2 separate regions of the Homo sapiens genome follow, and region 2 is linked to region 1. The links are contacts of gene promoters, found by promoter capture Hi-C in human tissues and cell types (Jung and others, 2019). All regions are on one chromosome and are shown on one strand. The core of a region is centred on a gene start or on the middle of the fragment in contact, and the rest is flanking DNA. Distances in the headings are between cores, read along the strand shown. Region 1 holds the start of TMEM235 (transmembrane protein 235). Region 2 overlaps TNRC6C (trinucleotide repeat containing adaptor 6C).

What was found. The method cuts DNA at HindIII sites, captures the fragments that hold promoters and counts their contacts. A contact is called where the count stands out against the background at its distance.
Region 2: a fragment that was not itself captured here is called in contact with the fragment with the promoter of TMEM235 in region 1 in 1 of the 25 tissues and cell types used here (spleen).

Annotation. Positions count from the first base shown.
Region 1 is chr17:78,230,084-78,233,147 of GRCh38, forward strand. It overlaps TMEM235 (transmembrane protein 235), which reads left to right and starts at 1,548. Exons shown (of 5, transcript NM_001395503.1): 1 at 1,548-2,130. The coding sequence starts at 1,941. The HindIII fragment of the contact is 13,022 bases long and covers 1-3,064 here.
Region 2 is chr17:77,962,406-77,965,469 of GRCh38, forward strand. The region is part of intron 1 of TNRC6C (trinucleotide repeat containing adaptor 6C); the gene reads left to right. Among named protein-coding and RNA genes, the nearest start is that of TNRC6C, 5.2 kb to the left of the region's middle. The HindIII fragment of the contact is 3,556 bases long and covers 1-3,064 here.

The DNA.
Region 1 (3,064 bases), core at 298-2,797:
TCAGCTCAAGAGAAGGGGAAGCTGGGCACAGTGGCTCACGCCTATAATCCCAGCACTTTGGGAAGCCGAGGCAGGAGGATCACTTGAACCCAGGAGTTCGAGACCAGCCTGGGCAACATAGGGAGACCCCTGCCCTCCCTGTCTCTGAAAAAAAAAAAAAAAAAAAAAGAAAGGAGAGGCTGGGCTTGGTGGCTCACACCTGTAATCCCAGCACTTTGGGAAGCCCAGGCAGGAGGATCACTTGAACCCTGGAGTTTGAGTCCAGCCTGGGCAACATAGGGAGACCTTGTCTCTAAAAAAATAAATAGAGTGAGAGAGAGAAGGGGAAGTCACCGGGAGGACACACATGGAGCACGCAGCCCAAATGGGGCTCCTCTGTTCTCCCTGCAGAGTCAGTTCGTACCTTTCACATGCACAAAGGTGTTGATCCAACCGAAGCAATATTGATTCTTGTTATATTGCTTTATTGTGGGGTCAGTGTCAGAGTACCACGAGTTTTCATCACGCACCGTTCTTTCCCCAGCTGCAGTGTGTTTAGGGGGGGAACGAGGCCCCACCCCCTATCCCTATCGCCTCTGCCTTTATAACGGCTGCTACTCTCTGAGCACCTGTTGAGTTCTTTCACCTTCCAGATCTAATGTGCTATCCCCACCCCTAGAGAACAGGGCTGCTGGATGCCACATGGCTCCCAGAGAGGGGCTGTGGTCAGGGAAGCCCCAGCTCCAAGGGGGCTGGAAAACCCCAGAGCTGCCCACGTGCGGCAACACAGTCTGGTGCTGCAGGTGTGAGGACGGCTACAAAATACCTGAGCCATTCTGTCACTCTGTCTGAACTCTGTTTGAAATATTGTTTCAATAACTGCTAGGCTGGTTTTTCCTTCCTGACTATATTCCTCAAACCAACAAGAGCCTAGCAGAGGAAAGCATGGCCAAAACGCCCCAAGAAGAGAGCCTTGGCTTCACCTCCAAGGGCCACCATCCGGGAGGATGTCCTCAGACCTCTGATCCCCTCTCTGCAGGCTCTGCCCAGCCCTGTGTGGCAACCCAGAGGAAGCCTCCCCTTCGTTTGAGATTTAACCCCAGACCTTAGGCGATGGCTGCCCAGCCTGTCCCTTCCGCCTGTGTGGCTGCCCACGCGGGCGTTGCTCATGGGGCTAGTCCTGGGTGGATGGGTGGGGGCCTCTCGCCGGCTCCTCTGCCTCCCACCCCCACTGGCACCCCACGCCTGTCCTAGAAGGTTCTTTCTGCCTGTTTTCTCCGTGAGTGACTGGACAGGCAGAGGCCGGCCTTGCTGGAGGGGGCATTTGTAATTATGAGTGAATCCAAAACAAGGTTTTTTCCTTCCGCAGCCCCCCGCCCGGCTGTGGGGCCCAGCCACTGCACTTCACCGGATGCCGTCTGGTTGGTCCTCAGGACTGATACAGACCAGGACCCCAGGGCCAGCCCGTGCCAGGCTCCTATGCTTCCAGGAGCACGGGTGGGTGGTCCTGCTGCCTGGCCGGCCATCCTCCTGGGGTCGGTCTCTGGCCGATCCTCCCTCCTCCTCTCAAGCCCTGCACAGCCCGGCCAGGCAGGTGCATCTTGTTTGGCTGCTGAGGAGCCGGGGGTTCAGGGAAATTAAGGAACGTGCCCAGGGACCCGGGGCCAGCCCGTGGGGACGCTGGGATTGGAGCCCAAGCCCCAGGTTCGCCGCGCGGCTCTCGACTTCCTCTCCTTTCCCCCAGGGGCGAGCTCAGCGACCGCAGAGAGGTGGGGTCGATCTCCCTGCGACCCCAGGGGGCCCGCGAGGCCAGTGCGCGGGCAGGAGCGGGGACGTGCTCAGAAGAGCCGGGCGCCGCCGCGCCCGCCCGCCCCCCGTCCCCCGGCTCCCGGCTCCGCGCGCCCCCCGCCGCCCCCGGGGCCCTGCTACCCCCGACCCGTCCCCTCCCGCCGGCCGCCCCCATGGCCCGGCTGGGCGCGCTGCTCCTGGCCGCCGCCCTGGGTGCACTGCTCAGCTTCGCGCTCCTGGCCGCCGCGGTCGCCAGCGACTACTGGTACATCCTGGAGGTGGCGGACGCCGGCAATGGCAGCGCCTGGCCCGGGCGCGCAGAGCTGCTCTCCTCGCACTCGGGGCTCTGGCGCATCTGCGAAGGTAACCGGCCACCGCGCCGGCCCTCCTCCCTCCGCGACCTCGTCCCTCCGACACCCCCTTAACCCCGCCCTGCTCGTGTTGCCCCGCCAGACCCCCTTCCAGGACCCCTCTCTTGCATCCCGCTCTGCCCCAGGGTGTCTCTCCGCTCCCTCCCCATCACCCTCCGTCTTCCCCCAAAACTGACAGCCCAAGGGCTACAGGAGGGAGGGAGCCCAGTTCGGGGCCCCTCACAGCCGGAGGAGGGGGCTGTGGGGCGACAGTGGGGGAGGGAAGCCTAGAGGTGTGTAGTTGGGGGGCCTCATCCAAGTCACCAGGGGTTGTTTCTTGATCACGCTCCCCGGGGTTTGGGCCTGGCAGCCCCTTGTCCCCGTCCCTGTCAGGCACTGTCAGAGCTGTTCACCCCACACCTCCTGATGCCGCGGGGGCAGGGGTTCCAAATGTGTACAGAGGCTTCAGAGTCCGGGGAGAGAGAAGGGGATCCCAGCAGGCTGGAGGGTCCACAGGGCCCCCTCCGTTCCCCCCAGCTCCCTCCTCCGGAGCTGGGGCCAGCCTGGGGAGCTTCCCCTTCACAGCGCGAGGGCTGGCAGGGCAGGGGTGTGTGTGTGAGTGAGCATGTGTGTGCATCTGAATATGTGTGCATGTGCTGAACATGAACATGTGTGAGCACCTGGCTGTGTATGTAAATATGAATATGTGAGTGTGAGTGTATGTAGTTGTGTGTGCATGTGAATATGAGTGTGTGAGCATGTCAGTGTGCATGTGTGTGCATGTGAGAGTGTGTGGGCATGTATATGAGTGAGTGCATGTGTGGGTGGTGCACATGTGCTGGTGGCTTCCTCAGTGCAACTGGGGAGGAGTTAGGAGCCTTGTGTTCATCCAACAGACTGCCTAACTGTGCTCCAAAGACCTCCTGACATGCACCTGTGTGCACGTG
Region 2 (3,064 bases), core at 221-2,720, 270 kb before region 1:
TTGGCTGTGAACTCTAGGCTGTCCCGTATACCAAAGTAAAACACATGGGACAATTAAGATTTGGGGATAGAGCAAGCAAAGATTACCAAGAGCAACTGAAGCTGGTGGAGAAGGCACAAGAAATGGAGAGGAGGAGACAGGAACAGATTTATAGACGTCCTTGGAGCTGGCAGAAGGATAGGTTGAGGGAGCAGGAGGCGGAGTCCTGAACAGACTGAGCGTGAAAGGGTCTATATAAGCTGGGAAGAACCAGGTAACTTTATGTTTGTTTTGTTTTTGTTATCTTCCGTTGAACTTGTTTTGGCTTCTTTCTCATAATTTTAAGACATGGGTTTTTACCTTTTCTCCAGCTCTATCTCAGAGGGTCTTCAAATATTTTAGGTGAGAAGTAAGGAAATATTTTGAAGTGTTGGTGACACAGTCTTTGGTCTCTCTTGCATGACAACTGGTCCCAGTGAAGGTGACTGGATTTTAGTTACTTTAGATAGTTAACATCTTAATATTTTGTTTGAAGATGTCATAGATTTGAGTAGGGACAGCAAAATATCAGGTGAGAAGTGGCTCCTATTTTGTAGGGGGTAGATTGTACAGGTTTTCTTGCTTTTACTCAGTCTATGGCTATCCAAATTTATACAAATGAGTTTTTAAATAATTGTGTGGTCACGAGGAGAGCATTCTTTATAAAATGATATACAATAAGCTTTCTTTAAATAGACTTTAATGCAGTGGAGTCCATTTATAAATTTTCAGCTTATACATAACTTTTTAGGAATATAATTACTTAAAAATGTAAAGGTTACTTGTCAGAAATAACTATATAACCTTGTGCAGAAAGTGTATATCTGAAATTGAAACTGAGAAATGTATAATCTTAGCCAGTGAACTTGTTTGAATAACCCGATTAAAATAATGGTACAGTTTCCTATTGTACAGATCGTGCATTTGAAATGTTAATTTATTTAATGAAAAGTAAATTATGTAATTTTAAAAAATCTCCACCTGGGATATATATAACAAGGTTTTACATGTTTAAAACATGCTGAAAATCCATATCGTTTGTTCCATTTTTGGAGTTTTACTAAAAATGAATTCTTTTCTTAGCTTTAGATGTTTTCAGAGAATGAAGAAGCTATTGCAGGAATGGAGAGCTGTTTGTTAAGAATGCATTCCTCCTCTGTAGCCTTCAAAAGACTATAGAGCTGTGTGCAGAGCTAGACAATCTGGGCATCCAGCCATAAAACATCACTGCTGTAGCACAGATAGTTGTTCGCACTCTCCTGAGCCCTCTGTGGCTGCAAACCACAACAGAAGTAATGGTCTTGGGAAAGGAACACTCAATGTTATTTTGAACTCTTAATATTCTCTGTGTCTCTCTGAGTTCCAGCTATGCATTGGAACTTTGGTTTTCTAAAATATAGTAGTGATTAAGGATGAGCAATAATATAGCTTCTTAAGTATATTCCTCTTGTAAGCCAGTGGATTTAAATGTTTGCTCTAGGAAATAAGGGGTGTCTAGGAAATAAGAGTTGTCTGTCCCACCATCTTCCTCTTTATTTGCCTCTTTGTTGCAATACTTCTTTTCTGTTGGAGAACCACTGCCCTAAGACCCATATGATCACTGGGCCACACACAGTGCACATGGCCCAAAGAGTCATCTGGAATCTTCCAGATATTTTGTGGGATGGATTGGTCTAATTTGGCCCAGTTTCCACTTTCTCATGAACCTTTTTGGCATAACAAATTTTTAATTTTTTTGCACAAAAATGAAGAAGAGTGTGACTGGCATCTATTTGTATAAATCCAAATGGTTTACTCTGAAGACCCTCTCTGTTTTTCTTCTTCAGACCATTTTAGAAATTAATACTCTATTGTATCTTTATAACTTCCTTCTCTGAAGGATTGAACTACAAACCTATAGTATCACAGTGTCAAGTTGAATTATTCTCAGCAGTTGGATAACTCTTGTCTGTGGTTGAGTCCTTTACTAATGTGCAGACTGTCTTTTGACGTGGCTAATACCAGATGCAAGTTGGTGCCCAGGTGGTTATTGGGAATATGTGCTTTGTTTGATTCATTTTATGTGTGCCTTCTAGCTTATTAAGAATAAGATCTCTCACAGCTAAAATCAAGTGCTTGGTTTGAGCCTGGCAAAGATATTGTTTACTTTTTTATTCCCAAAGATCATTTCTTTTTAATTACTCTTTTAGGAAGCAGGGAAAATCTCAGTGAAAATAGCAACTGGGAATTAAACTAAGATCTGAAACTGGGAAATGGCAACGCGGGCACAGGTGTCACCTTTCCAACTGTTGTTGAGATGATGTGGACAACGGTTATTCAGAAATTACAGTGGGGAGGAGGGAGATGCACAAGTATTTTTTCTCATACTCCATATGAAATATGAAGTGCAGAGTGAGGGGCCCAGAGTGTAGGGAGGGAATTTAATAGGCTTTGTTCTTCAGGGGGCTATGGCTGATGTCTTAAACAAGGTCTTTTTTGGTAGGGAGGCACAGTAAGGGAAGAAGGTGATGGATTTGTGGGAACAAGTACATTTGAGTCACTGAGGACAATTGGGAATTGTGAAGTGGGAGTGGACGAGGTTAGAAAGCATCCTTAGGTAACCAGATCTCCATTTAAAACTAATCTGAGCATTTACAATGTGATTATGTGCCAAGGACATGAGTTTATCTTATTTAATCCTCACAACACTCCTGTGAAGTGGTTGCTTTTAACATTCCCATTTTACAGATGAGCAAAGGGAGTAATTTCCACAAGATCCTATAGCTTATAGGAGATGAAGCCAGAATTTAAACTCAATACACTTCAAAGCCCTCACATATGGAAAAAGCTTGGATTATTTTAATAGCTGCTTAATGAGTCTCTTCCTCTGTTCTGTGTCCTGCTATCCAGCTGCCAATATTAACTGACTGCCTTCTGAGCACTTTGTGTGTATGATCTCATTCATTTCTCCTCAGCAGCTTATAAGTTAGGAGCTGTGATTATATTCACTTTATACATGGAAGCTGAAACTGATGGAAGTTGAATAATTTGCCCCAAATCAGAGCCT